Linked DNA regions of Homo sapiens: regions 1 and 3 are each linked to region 2. The links are contacts of gene promoters, found by promoter capture Hi-C in blood cells and fetal thymus (Javierre and others, 2016). All regions are on one chromosome and are shown on one strand. Each heading gives the region's core, a stretch centred on a gene start or on the middle of the fragment in contact. The rest is flanking DNA. Distances are from core to core; before and after follow the strand shown.

The links. Contacts are between HindIII fragments. The CHiCAGO score rates a contact against its expected background, and 5 or more counts as called.
Region 1: a contact is called between a fragment that was not itself captured here and the fragment with the promoter of PARK7 in region 2, in 1 of 17 cell types (naive CD4 T cells). The highest score is 5.4, in naive CD4 T cells.
Region 3: a fragment that was not itself captured here is called in contact with the fragment with the promoter of PARK7 in region 2 in 10 of 17 cell types (naive CD4 T cells, M1 macrophages, endothelial precursors and 7 more); the score reaches 9.1 in naive CD4 T cells.

Annotation. Positions count from the first base shown.
Region 1 is chr1:8,379,195-8,383,740 of GRCh38, reverse strand. The region is part of intron 12 of RERE (arginine-glutamic acid dipeptide repeats); the gene reads left to right. Among named protein-coding and RNA genes, the nearest start is that of RERE-AS1, 43 kb to the left of the region's middle. The HindIII fragment of the contact is 3,368 bases long and covers 1-3,052 here.
Region 2 is chr1:7,958,475-7,963,241 of GRCh38, reverse strand. PARK7 (Parkinsonism associated deglycase) reads right to left here and starts at 1,531. Exons shown (of 7, transcript NM_007262.5): 1 at 1,449-1,531; 2 at 367-479. The coding sequence starts at 456. RefSeq lists enhancers at 1,091-1,150, 1,201-1,250, 1,451-1,500, 896-1,679, 1,881-1,980 and 1 more and a silencer at 1,631-1,730. The HindIII fragment of the contact is 27,976 bases long and covers 1-4,767 here.
Region 3 is chr1:8,360,778-8,365,164 of GRCh38, reverse strand. RERE (arginine-glutamic acid dipeptide repeats) reads left to right here. Exons shown (of 23, transcript NM_001042681.2): 14 at 327-419; 15 at 910-1,109; 16 at 2,321-2,482; 17 at 3,289-3,402; 18 at 3,675-4,387. Among named protein-coding and RNA genes, the nearest start is that of SLC45A1, 45 kb to the right of the region's middle. RefSeq lists an enhancer at 1-504. The HindIII fragment of the contact is 862 bases long and covers 2,707-3,568 here.

The sequences.
Region 1 (4,546 bases), core at 119-2,618, 420 kb before region 2:
AGTACAGGTGCGTGCCACCACACCCGGCTAATTTTTGTATTTTTAGTAGAGATAAAGTTTCACCGTGTTGGTCAGGCTGGTCTCAAACTCCTGACCTCGTGATCCACCCACCTCAGCCTCCCAAAGTGCTGGGATTACAGGTATGAGCCACCGCACCTGGCCCTTGGGCATAAATTGTAACATAAGTGTATGTTCTTCGACACATTTAAGAGTGGAGTGATGGTGTCATAAAATTAAATAATGGGATGTTCTAAGTCCCTTAAGCTGGACCTTTCCAATCTGTGCATCAAAGCTAATTCTGCATTAAAGTGCAAGGACGGCTCACAAACCCCATAGTTGCCTGATATAGATTGGCAGGTGCATTCTCTTGGTTTCGTTTTTATTCCTGCTGAAATGTTTAATGATCTTGTGTGGCGTCATTCTGTTGCCGATTGTGTAAGAGAGAAGCTGGACCTGGGTGGAGACAGGCTTCTTAGGTGGCCTCAGTGGGCTGTTGGGCATTTATGGTTCTGCTGGTTGCAGCTGAGATCTTCAGACAGAATACTCTTCTCCTTGACCAGCGCTTATCTTTCAGATTGTGAACTAGGCCCAGACACCATTACCATTCACCATCTCTAACATTCTCTTATTCTTTGACTACATAAGGCACTGTCGTTCTAGGGGAAACATGATAGAGGAAGGAAGTTGGTTGCAGAAACCATTCTTTGAAAGACTTTTTTTTTTTTTTTAACTTAGTCAATTAAAATAGTCCTTTAAGGTGAACTTAGTTCTGAGTTTCTGGTCCTTTTCCCAGATGGAAAAGGATTTTCAAGAAAAAATCCTGTCACTTACTGAGCATGTGTGCCGGCTCCTTTTTGGCACTTCCATCCTCACCACAACCCTATAAAGGAGGGAGCTCGTGGCGAGGCAGCCCAGGTTTCTAGATAAGGAGAGTCTCGAGGAGGTTCCTTAACCTTCCTGTGGTGGTTTTTCTCCATTTTTAAAATGAAGAAACAGAGGCCAAGAGAGGTTAGGGAATTTGCTCAAGGTCGTGCAGCCAGTGGCAGCTGTTCTCACTCGGAGTTCTGAGAGAGGTAAGCCTCAGAAGCCGGGCATCCATTGTGTGTAACGTAGTAACGTCTTGCCTGTGCATCTAGAAAGGTACCTGTTATGTTCCGTTCATAGGAGAATTGAGAAAATATTAATAGTCACTTCATTTTAAGAACTCCAGTTGAAAAAGGCTAGACAGTCAATGTTTGTTCATTGTTTTTCTCCATTCTTCCCCAGCATGCGCGCTCTCTCATGCACACGCACGCATGCGCACGTGGCTGAGCCAAAGCCTAAGCTGCGAATTGAGTTTCGTTAATTCATGTGGAGGCAGCTGAGAGTGCCACCTGGTCCTGAAGAAATTGGGATACTTGTGGGCACAAAGGTGGACCTGAGATCACTGGAGCCAAGCTGGTGGAAGTGTTGACCACTGCCGTTGGCAGAGAGCTGTCATTACTGGTGCTTCAGGCCACAGCTCAGCAGGCTGTCCTTGTTCTGTTTTGTTAAGAGCCTAGCAGCATGGCTAGCTTGCAGGCATAATCCCAGAGCCTCTTGCTATCTGCCTGCAGGAAGTCTCTATGTGCTCCAGCACACTGAAGGAATTTGGTGCTCACTTTCTCCTGCTTTTGAGCTTTGGTCCTGTGTTATTACTAATCCTTAGAGGAAGATTTTGACTGTAACCACTTTCCTGAGTGCTCTTAAGGCAGGTCCAGAGGATTCTCACAGCGTGAAATGAGAAAACGCTCAGCCTCAGAAAAATGGAAGTTATTCTTTTAGTGCCAAAGTGTCATTGGACCACAGTGCAGCTTGGTTAATTCAGGTTAAGACTTAGCCCCTGGAACAGTGTCAAGCCAAGGCCTGTGTGGTTTCATCATAGATTTGTAAAACAAAAAACACGTGTGTTCTGGTAAATTCCAAGCGCACATTAGTGCATACGTGTATGTGCAGGAACACTCCCTGTAAGACTCTTGTTCTCATTTCACACTGGCGCGTCCCCGGGGCTGGGGAAATCATTTTCATTTTTGAGAGTAACCTTAACTAATTAAATGGATCAAGGGACTCTTTGTGTTTTGTTTTCATTTTGTTTTGTTTTTTACTTTAATGTACAGATAAATTAAGGGAAATAATAATTACCTTGAATAATTTTGATTCTCGTAACTAATTTTCCACCTATGTGTGTTTAGCTCAATTTTGAAATGGTTCACTGAAAGATTTCCAAATTTCTTATCACTGAAACTGAGTTATTTCACTTTTATGACTGTTAGTGACTCCTCTGTTTTATGTATTTCTGGTGCAGTATAATTCTTCTATGTCTGTGTGTCTGTGATAGATCTCAGTTCAAGTTAGCGTTTCCCGAGCACCCATCTTGTGTCAGGCACTCTGCTAATGATTGCGCAGGTTACAAGGTTTAGAGTGGCCACATCCCCTGTTCACTTGCAGTTTAGAGTCCAGTCGGAGGAAAGGGAGGAGGGGAATCATGTTATAGACATAACTTGATATCCTGCAGGACTCAGTGATGTATGAGCCACAAAAAGGTCACAGCTGAGTGAGAGAGTTGGTAATCATGGAAACAGGCGCATCGGAAACTCGCTTCCTATGGGTCAGTAAAGTGTGTATGAGGTGGTGTGGATGACAGCACATAGAGCTGGAGGGGTGGGCCAGCAGCAACCAGGAGAAGGCGTTCCAGGTGTCTGCACCCAAGGAGATCCTGGGGTCAGAGGCAGGACATGTGGGAAAAACCATTGGTCCCTTTTACCCAGGGAAGGACTCAAGAAGCCGAACGTGGTAGGAGATGGAGGCTCCCAAGCCCTGGCAGACGTTACAGCAGCGCTGAGCACTTTCAGGACCAGGACTCCAAGGTCCAGCTCTGGAACGCCCCTCTCTGCCCTGACTTTGGTTCCTTCATCAGCAGAGGGGCTCCTGGGCTATGGGCTCAAGTCTGAAGTCACCTTAAAGAGAAATCTCTACCTTTCTGTTCTCCTTCATTGCTGAGGATTTTGACTTGTGTTGAAAAGTTTCTGAAGCTTTCTGCAGCTGGAAAATCAAGCTTTTAAAAAAGCTCTTGATGGGCCAGGCTTGGTGGCTCACGCCTGTAATCCCAGCACTTTAGGAGGCCAAGGCAGGTGGATCACGAGATCAGGAGTTTGAGACTAGCCTGGTCAACATGGTGAAACGCCATCCCTACTAAAAATACAAAAATTAGCCAGGTGCGGTGGCACGTGCCTATAGTTCCAGCTGCTCAGGAGGTTGAGGGAGAAGAATCACTTAAACCCAGGAGGTGGAGGTTGCAGTGAGCTGAGACCATGCCACTGCACTCCAGCCTGGGCAACAGAGCAAGGCTCTGTTTTGTTTCGTTTAAAAAAAAAAAAAAAAAGCCTGTTGACTTTTGGGAGTTGTGTCTGGGACCTAGGCTTGAGCAGTGAGGACGCAGAGCTCATCATCAGCATGGCTTGCTCTGAGGCTGTTAGAGATTCTCATGCCAAGAGAGGCAGGCCTTTTGCCATGTGGGCATGAAGGAAAAAATTACTTCCCGAGAGAGGGCCAAGGGCACCTTTGCATCACAGACCAATCCCAGCATAAACATGCATGGGTGGGAGGGATGGGGTTATGGTATGTTCTGGGAGCACAGTGACATACCTCCTCCTGCCACATGCCATGTCAGCCGTGAGGTGGGCGTTGGAGTGGGGTGACTGAGGTCACCCATCATGACAACAGTGGTGATTTGTCTCCAGAACAGGAGCGGCCAGGATTTGATGCAGGCTAAGGTGTGCTGTGGTGAGTTTGTGGCATACGTGCTGCATTAGGTGAAGTGATCCCACCCAGCCCCGCAGGCTTCCCCACTACACAGCGTGTTGCAGAGATCTAGGTCCATCTGGCATTCAACTTGTGTGTTAAATGGAAAAGGGAGCTCCTGGCTCTCCTCTGGGGAGTTAGCCCCATCATCTTTGCAAATTCCCTTTGGAGTAGGGAGCGGTTTCCTAGAGTCTCTAGACAGTGACCCCCGCGTGCCCCCTGTGGGCCCCACATGCATAGCAGCCTGCATGGGGTGGCGCTGCCAGTCCCACACTTCCTGGGCCTCTTAAGGGAGAGCCAGCCGCCCTCTGTAAAGAACCTTTGAGGAGACCTAGATATGGACCAGGAGAGAATCCGTGGAGCCCATATCACAGTCACAGTCACAGATTCGGAGATCCATGGCTGTTTTCATAAATTACACCCGAACCCCTGGTGGTTCCCGTTGTGTGTGTTTTCTCAACTGCAGTGTGTCTGTTGATGTGAGGAACCCAGAACAGTGGCTTGGAAACCCCTGGAACCACAGAGCTGTGGTGGTCAGAGAGCCTCACACATTTGTCTGTCTGTGAAGTATGGGCTGCATGACCCTCCTTTCCCCGGTCGCAGCTTCATGGGAGGCTGTGCGGGGCGGGCCCAGCCCCATGGAGCTGGGCTCTTGCCTGTGGAAACTGACCAGAATTAAGTGGTCAGAAACAGGCCCACAGAGACTCTGGAGGGTTCTTCCTTTGTG
Region 2 (4,767 bases), core at 282-2,781:
ACATACAAAAATTAGCCAGGTGTGGTGGCACGCATCTGTAGTCTCAGCTATTTGGGAGGCTGAGGTGGGAAGATGGTTTGGGCCCAGGAGGCAGAGACCGAAATGAGCCAAGATCCTGCCATCGCACTCCAGCCTGGACGACAGAGCTCAAAACAAAAGAGAAATGGGTCTGAAGGAAATATGGCAAGACATTAACAAGCGTTAAATGTGAGCAGTGGATCAACAGGTATTTATTCTTATGTCATCTCTGAAATTTTGTGTATATTTGAAATATTTCATAGAGCACTTTGAATATTTTATTCAAAATGATTTAAAAATCCAAAAACATTTAAAACAGGAATGGCTAAAAATCGATGTGGGACTTACCCCAGCTCGCCTCATGACATCTACAGGGATGACCGTCTCCATTTCCTCTGCTCCTTTAGCCAGGATGACCAGAGCTCTTTTGGAAGCCATTTTTATGTTATATGTTTACAAGCCTTAAAAAAAAAAAAAAAAAAAGATTTCAAAAAACTTTCATTGCAACCCTGAGATACCCCAAAATTTAAAGTTTAGGAGCATTTTCAAGCAGAGTAAGTACTTCCTAGGGAAACGGTTTTCATAGACAACTGAATACGAAAAAAGCAGCAGTTTAGTTATCTTAACGTTGATTTGTATAGCAGTTTTAATTGCTCTGAGATGAAAACATAATGAGGGTGCTAAAAGGTGTAGTATTGCTTAGATTTTCTTCTACCATGTTCTCTTAAATCCAACTTTAATAGTATGTTGCAAATGGGTTTTTTAAAAATACAAGTACGTGGGTCTCCTGCATTTCACACAATGCGGGGAAACAGTCTTTTTTGAAGCACTGTTTCAGAGAAACGACTAAACTGAATTTCATGGGCAAAAATTTAAATGTGGTCTTTCGCAATTAACTTGTAATTTTTTGGAGGGGATTTTTGTTTTCTTAGTTATAACTGTACTAAAAAATTGTGTGTGGGGGTCAACAGTGTTAAATGTCTGAACACTTTTTTTAATGACTGAGAAAGATGGAAATCCCCTCACTGAAGTCAACCCAACTACATCTGTCTCTCTGCGCGGAGTTCTCACTGCCAACGACAGCAGCTCAACGAGGTTCCGAATTTTTTTTAGCCTATTTACAGATTATCTGGAGGGTTTACCGTCCACGCAAAACAGAGTTTAATAAAACGGCTAGCCAGTTCCATGCCGGCGAGAGGTTAGGCAGAAGATTCTGGACGCTTCAGCGTTGCCACCACGCTGGCGGTCAGTCAAATCCAACGCCAGCGACAGGGCCCGACTGGGAGGCCGGAAGCGAGGGCGGCCCCGACCCAGGCCCCGCGCCGGTTCTGAGCCAGCGGGACACCGTCCAGCACAGGGACACCGTCCAGCACCCCCACGCCGCCCAGCGCCACGGCCCACACATGCGCCGCGCCCCCGCTGGCGCTGACCTGCACCCCGCGCCTCTTCCTGCGGACGCGGCGCCCCGGCCCGTTGGGTACCACTCACCCCACACCAGGCTGAAAATGAACGCACGCCAGCACGCACGCGCGCCGTCCGGCCTCCCTCAGCCCCACACTGCGCAGACTCACGCCGCCTTGGCCTCACGCTGCGTCACGTCCGGCCGAGTCTACCTCGGACTGAGGCGGGGGTGGCACCGGGGAGTTTCTAGCTGGACAGCCCTGGGTGAGGCGGCTCGGTCCCACATGGTACCCCCCACGAATGGCACAGTCCGGCCTGCCCCGGCGCCCGCGGGGCTTAACAGTCTCTACCGCCACCCTCCGTGAGGAGCCGGTCTCTGGAACTGCCGAGGGACTGGGGTTGTCAGAGGGGTTCCTTAGTTCGCGCTCCGTGCACGCCTGCTCCCTTTGCGTTGTTCCTTTTCTGGCGCGCCTTCCCGTTTCGCCTCTGGTCTGTTAGGACTCTGGTCCAGGCCTCCCGGACCTCTCCCCCACGCCTGGTCTCCCGATCTCGGGCGACTCTGCCGCATTTATTCACACCCGGATGTCTCAGGGGTGTGAGTTTTTTTCTCAGCATTGTTTGTTTTCTTTAACGATCCTGATGCTGCTGCACCCACAGGACTAGAGCAGTGCTGCGCACATAAGTCTAATAAGTACCAAGTTGGTCAGATGTATTTACATCATAATCTCAAGTTGTATTTATTGATATGTAAGAGACGTATGTGTTTTCTGGGTACATGTGGTATTTTGATACTTTCATATAATGTGTAATGATTAAATCAGGGTAAATGAGATCTCTATCACCTTAAACATTTGTCTTTATACTGGGAACATTCCAGTTACTCTCTTCAATAATAACATTTTAAAATATACAACAGATTACTGTTAACTATAGTCACCCTACAGAACTCTGCCAACGCTAGGTCTTATTCCCTCTTAAGGAGAGCACAGATCACCTGGTGACCATCAAGCAGGCCCCTTATCTGAGGAATTTAGAAGTAATTAGATATCCCTATTATCTAAAGTTGGCACCTGGTACCAGGTTAAATCAAAGGAAATAGTTAAAGCCCAAAATTCTTGAATGAGCTTAGAAGGATCCTGGCTAAATGAACGCAACTTGGATTGAATTTGCAAAAAATGAGACATTCGAAAAGGGACATGAAAAATCCACCGCGGCATGCTCAGTTCTCTCTTGCTGAGGCTGCACTCTTCTGCAGCGTTCTAATAAAACTTTCCTTTTTCAAACCTATATTGTTGTCGATAAATTCTTCTTACCAACCAGCAAGTCGACCACTTTCTGATGCTGGGGCTCTTGACACCTTGCCCAGCACTTCTACCAATTTTTGTACCTATTAATCACCCTGTTCATCCCCTTCTCCTGGCTACCCTTCCTGGCCTCTGGTAACCACCAACTTATCTTCATGATATCCACTTTTCAACTTCCCATTTATGAGTGAAATCATGTGATGCTTGTCTTTCTTTGCCTGGCTTGTTTCACTTAACATAATGACCTCCAGTTCCATCAATGTTGTTGCAAATAGGATTTTATTATTTTTTATGGCTGAATAGTATTCATTGTGTATATTTACATTTTATTTATCCAGTCATCCATTGATGAACATTTTGGTTGATTCCATATTTTGACTGTTGTGAACAGTGCTACAATAAGCATAGGAGTGCAAATATCTCTTTGATATATTGATTTTCTTTCTTTTTTTTTTTTTTTGAGACTCCATCTTGCTCTGTCGCCTAGCCTGAAGTGCAGTGGCACCATCTTGGCTCACTGCAACCTCTGCCTCTGTGTTGAAACAATTCTCGTGCCTCAGTCTTTCGAGTAGCTGAGACTACAGGTGTGTGCCACCATGCCTGGCTAATTTTTGTATTTTTAGTAGAGACAGGGTTTTACTATGTTGGCCAGGCTGGTCTTGAACTCCTGACCCCAAGTGATCTGCCTGCCTCGGCCTCCCAAAGTGCTGGGATTATAGGCGTGAGCTACCGTGCCTGGCCCTTCCTTTCTTTTTGGTATATACCGGTAGTGGGATTGCTGGATCATATGGTAGTTATGATTCCAGAACTTATGATTTCTCAGAAGTTAATCTTCTGAGGATTCCATATTGTTTTCCATAGTGGCTGCACTAATTGAGATGCTCGCCAACAGTGTATGAGGTTCCTTCTTCACATCCATCTCAGCATGTTATTCCCTTTTTGATAAAGGCCATTTTAACTGGGATGAGATGATATCTTACTGTCTTTATTTGCATTTCTCTGATTAGTGACATTGAGCCCTTTTTCATATCTCTTGGCCATTTGTATCTCTTCAGAAATGTCTATTCAGATCTTTTGCCCACTTTTAAATCTGATTGTTTTCTTGCTATTGAGCTCCTAATATATTCTAGTCATTAGTCCCTCATCAAATGGATAGTTTGCAAATATTTTCTCCCATTCTGTGTGTTGTCTCTTTGCTTTGTTGTTTCCTTTGCTGTGCATATACTTTTTAGTTTGATGTAATTCCATTTGTCTGTTTTTGCTTTTGTTGTCTGTGCTTTGAGGTCTTTGCCCAGATCAATACCCTGGAACATTTCCCCAGTGTTTTCTTTCTTTTCTTTTCTTTTTTTTTTTTTTTTGAGATGGAGTCTCGCTCAGCCGCCTAGGCTGGAGTGCAGTGGCGCAATCTTGGCTCACTGCAACCACTGTCTCCTGGGTTCAAGCGATTCTCTGTCTCAGCCTCCCGAGTATCTGGGATTACAGGCACCCTCCATCATGCCTGTCTAATTTTTGTATTTTAGTCCAGACAGGGATTCACCATGTTTCCCAGGCTGGTCTCGAACTCCTAACCTCAGGTGATCCACTTGCCTCAGCCTCCCAAAGTGCTGGGATTACAGGTGTGAGCCACCGTGCCTGGCCCCCCCCCCCCCAGTGTTTTCTTCTAGTAATTTCTTTTCTTTTCTTTTTTTTTTTTTTTTGAGACAGAGTCTCGCTCTGTTGCCCAGGCTGGAGTGCAATGGTGCAATCTCAGCTCATTGCAACCTCCGCCTCCCAGGTTCAAGCAATTCTCCCACCTCAGCCTCTAGAGTAGCTGGGATTGCAGGCACCTGCCATCATGCCTGGCTAATTTTTGTATTTTTAGTAGAGATGAGCTTTCACCATGTTGGCCAGGCTAGTCTCAAACTCCTGACCTCAAGTGATCTGCCCACCTCGGCCTCCCACAGTGCTGGGATTACAGGTGTGAGCCACAGCACCTGGCCTAAATACATCAGTGTTTTTAAGGTTTCAATTTAGATATTAAAATCGCGTTTCTGGCCAGGCGCGG
Region 3 (4,387 bases), core at 1,888-4,387, 400 kb before region 2:
GGCGTATTAGGGAGGGAGGCAGCATGGACGCGCTTGTCCCAGTTCAGACTCACCCGTTACGGGCATCAGTGGCAGGGCAGGCCCTTGGGTATGGCGCCTCACACACAGGCCCTCTGTCCTGGTGACTGACACTGAGGAGCTCGAAGTGGTCCTTTGCAGACACTGTCCTACCTCAGCCTGTGCACCCAGCCGCTCTGACTGGTGGCCAGAACCTGCAGTAGGCCAGAGGTCACAGGTGTTCCCCCCTCCCCCCCACCCCACCGGCCCAGCCTTGGCTGAGCATGATGGTGTCTCCCCCACCCCCACTATGTGCCTGCCACGCCCAGTGGACCTAAGTTCAGCCAGTGAAGATGACTTCGACAGTGAGGACAGTGAGCAGGAGCTGAAGGGGTACGCCTGCCGCCACTGCTTCACCACCAGTAAGTGGCCTCGTCACGCTCCTGGGGCGGGGCGGGGGCACAAGCACTTCCATGTTCTGAACATTTCATGCATCCAGCTGGAAACCTGCCAGGGACAGTACTTGATTTGACATTTGCATTGTGCTTCGGGATTCGAGAAAGTTAGAAATGTTTAGTTTACTTTACTCCTCTGCTTGGCAGTCGGTATGGAATACTGACTGGTAGGCAGGACAGATTGAGTGGGATTGGGGGGTTGACACTGTAGTTCCCAGGAGCTTGCTGCCAGCTTTTCCTGGGCACCCCAAGTTGAAGTGGGCAGCAGATGCCCCTGAAACCCTCTCCTGGCCTTGGGGGAGCAGGGCAGCACTAGCCCTGGGGTGTTGGGGCCCAGGGCTGCATGGTGCTGGTGGCATCAGGTTTGGGTAGAGCCCACAGAAGGGCCCCTCTGCCCAGACATCCCCAGGGAGAGGGATGGTTTCCAAGGTTGGCCCCCACCACTTCCCTCACACAGCCTCCAAAGATTGGCACCACGGAGGCCGGGAGAACATCCTGCTTTGCACCGACTGTCGCATCCACTTCAAGAAATACGGTGAGCTCCCGCCCATTGAGAAGCCCGTGGACCCGCCACCGTTTATGTTCAAACCCGTCAAGGAAGAGGATGATGGGCTCAGTGGGAAGCATAGCATGAGGACACGGCGGAGTCGGGGCTCGGTGAGTCCCCTGGGGCCATGGGGCTCCTGGCAACTTCTTCAGTTTCCTGGGATGTGTGGGGGCTTGAGCCTCCCAGGGGGAGGAAGCGAAAGTCTTGTTTACCAGACAAAGTCCTGGAGGGGAGCTGCTTTGCCCGAGGCGGTAGCTTGCCTGTGGGCTGGGAAGAGTTCTCTGTTCTCTCCTTCGAGGGGCCCCAGGGTGGCATCCTGCTCTGGGTTTTGTAGCAAGCTCTTAGCTTCTGGCTCAGTGCAGGCTCTCCAAGGCCCCTCTTGCTCTCCAAGGCTGCTGCTTGTGGTGTCACTTCCATTGTATCAAATCTCTGCTATTTTAAACTTGCAGGCTCTTTTGTGTTAGTGTGTTTGTGATTTTTTTTAAATGTTTGATCCCGTTTTGGAAACTTCCGATACATTTTTCTGCTCACTGCATAGCTCCTCCCATAAAGAGACTTTGTTTCCTAGGTTGGAAATGTGCCAGGGACTTTGGGAGAGGCTTTTTCCAGGTTTGGGGCTGAGGGTACTGACAGGGTCTTTCCCTTCAGCCTCCCTTATGGCCCCTTCTGGCAGGTGGGTGGGACCATCCACTTTCCTCTGCCCCTTGTATGCCGTTGAGGCTGCTGGCAGCCCGGCCCCCGCTCACTCAGAAGGGAGCAGGTCAACCAGCCAGAACCATTGTCTCCTGATCTCTTCTGAGCCCTCATGGCTTTGCAGAAACATGCTGAAGCGCTTGGCGGCTTGGGGAGCTGAGCTGCTTTACTTGACAGCTTCATCTCTTTGGGTCACTTCCTGTCCTGTCAGATTAAATCCACAAGTGTTTGATTTCATTTGGTTTGGTTGGGAGAATGGACGGTTATGAGGAATAAACAGAAAGGGTGTAGGGTGCTTTAAAGATGGCCCCAGGCGACTTTCTGCCGCTCAGAAAGTGTGGTTCATTTCCAGCACACGTTGTTCAGGACAGTCCCTTGGGATGAGTGCTTTAGGTTTGAGAACCGCCCTCTGGCGTGAGCCCACTGATTTCCCCACCTCTTCCCTGAGCTCCACACCGACCTTCATGCAGCCAGGGACAGGCAGGGCGGCCTGTTGTTTGCCAAGGTCTGGGATTTGCTGAGAGGCTGATAGGGTGTGCCTTCAGGCTTCTGCCTGTGGGTTGGGCTCAGGTGGGTCCACATGGGGACTGGGAATCTGGTGTCACCAGTCTTCGGTTTGGGTGGGCAGATGTCGACACTACGCAGTGGTCGGAAGAAGCAGCCAGCCAGCCCTGATGGTCGCACCTCACCCATCAATGAAGACATCCGCTCCAGCGGCCGGAACTCCCCCAGCGCTGCCAGTACCTCCAGCAATGACAGTAAAGCAGAGACAGTGAAGAAGTCGGCCAAGGTCAGGTGCTGGGGGGATAGTAGGGCCTACTCTGTCCCTCCCTCACATTAAAACTGGTTTGCTGGTATTCGTGATCAGCTCCCTCAGACACGAGGATGCAGCTCATTCATGGAGCCTGTCTGGACACCAGCATTGTCCTGGCCTAGGGGCTGCAGACCGAAGGCTGGGGGCCTAGAGAAGGGGGCTCGAGCACCAACTCTTGGGGGCCACCTCTGCCTCAAGCTTCCCAAGTTCTCAGAAAGTGTGGGGAGTGGTTAGAACGGCTCCCTCCAGAGCCAAGTACAGTCCTCCCTTGGTATCCATTAGAGATTGGCTCCAGAGCCTCCACCGCCCAGGATACCAAAATCCACAGGTGCTCAAATCTCATATACATCGACACATGGTTTGCATGTGACCAGTCACATCCTCCTGTAGACTCTAAATCATCCCTAGGTTACTTCTACTGCCCAGTGCAATGTAAATGCAGTTTAAACAGTGGTTCCACTGTCTAGTTCAGGAGATAATGACAAGAAAACATTGTGTGCACGTTCAGTATAGATGTAACCATCACAGTCCTGCCTACATTTTCAGTCCATGGTTGCTTGAATCTGAGGATGCAAACCCACAGGTGCAGAGGGCTGGCTCTCATTCCCACCCCCAGATACGTGTTCCTTCTTGGCCCCAGTTGACCCTTCTAGAGCTTTTTGCTCCTGGAGATGGAACTCAGAATGAGGGAGCAAAGTGTCTGCAAACCGTCATTTCCTTGCTGAGGCTGATGGGATGGTCTCCCTTGGCCTGATTGCTCCTTGTGGGCTTTTCCCCTGCAGAAGGTGAAGGAGGAAGCCTCTTCCCCTCTTAAGAGTAACAAACGCCAGCGGGAGAAGGTGGCCTCTGATACGGAGGAGGCTGACAGGACCAGCTCCAAGAAGACAAAAACGCAGGTGAGGTTTGCTGCTGAGCCTTGCTGAGTAAAGCTAATGCTTCTTCAGAAGCCCCCAGCCGGGGTTCTCCCTAGTTGGTGGCCGTGCCCTGTCTCCTAGGGTGGGGCTGGAGTGGCCTTTGACACTGGCTGGGTCAGGGCACGACCTGTGGTCCCGGAGCCAAGCTTGCTGCTTCATCTGCACAAACATTACTGTGTGTCCGGCACTGGTGGTGCAGAGCAGACAGGGCTCTGCCCTCCTGGGACTTCCATCCTTCCCTTCTCTGACTCCAGGAGATCAGCAGGCCCAACTCGCCATCTGAAGGTGAGGGAGAGAGTTCAGACAGTCGCAGCGTCAACGATGAGGGTAGCAGTGACCCCAAAGACATCGACCAGGACAATCGCAGCACGTCCCCGAGCATCCCCAGCCCCCAGGACAATGAGAGTGACTCGGACTCGTCAGCCCAGCAGCAGATGCTGCAGGCCCAGCCCCCAGCCTTGCAGGCTCCCACTGGGGTCACCCCAGCTCCCTCCTCAGCTCCTCCAGGGACCCCTCAGCTGCCCACGCCAGGGCCCACGCCCTCTGCCACTGCAGTTCCCCCACAGGGCTCCCCCACGGCCTCCCAGGCCCCTAACCAGCCACAGGCTCCCACAGCGCCTGTTCCCCACACCCACATCCAACAGGCACCGGCCTTGCACCCCCAGCGGCCGCCCTCACCGCATCCCCCGCCGCATCCCTCGCCACATCCCCCGCTGCAGCCTCTGACTGGGTCGGCGGGCCAGCCTTCTGCACCCTCTCATGCCCAGCCCCCACTGCACGGTCAGGGCCCACCCGGCCCTCACAGCCTGCAGGCTGGGCCCCTGCTGCAGCACCCAGGCCCCCCACAGCCCTTTGGCCTCCCTCCCCAGGCCTCCCAAGGCCAGGCCCCTCTGGGGACCTCCCCAGCAGCAGCGTACCCTCACACCTCCCTGCAGCTGCCAGCCTCTCAGTCAGCGCTGCAGTCCCA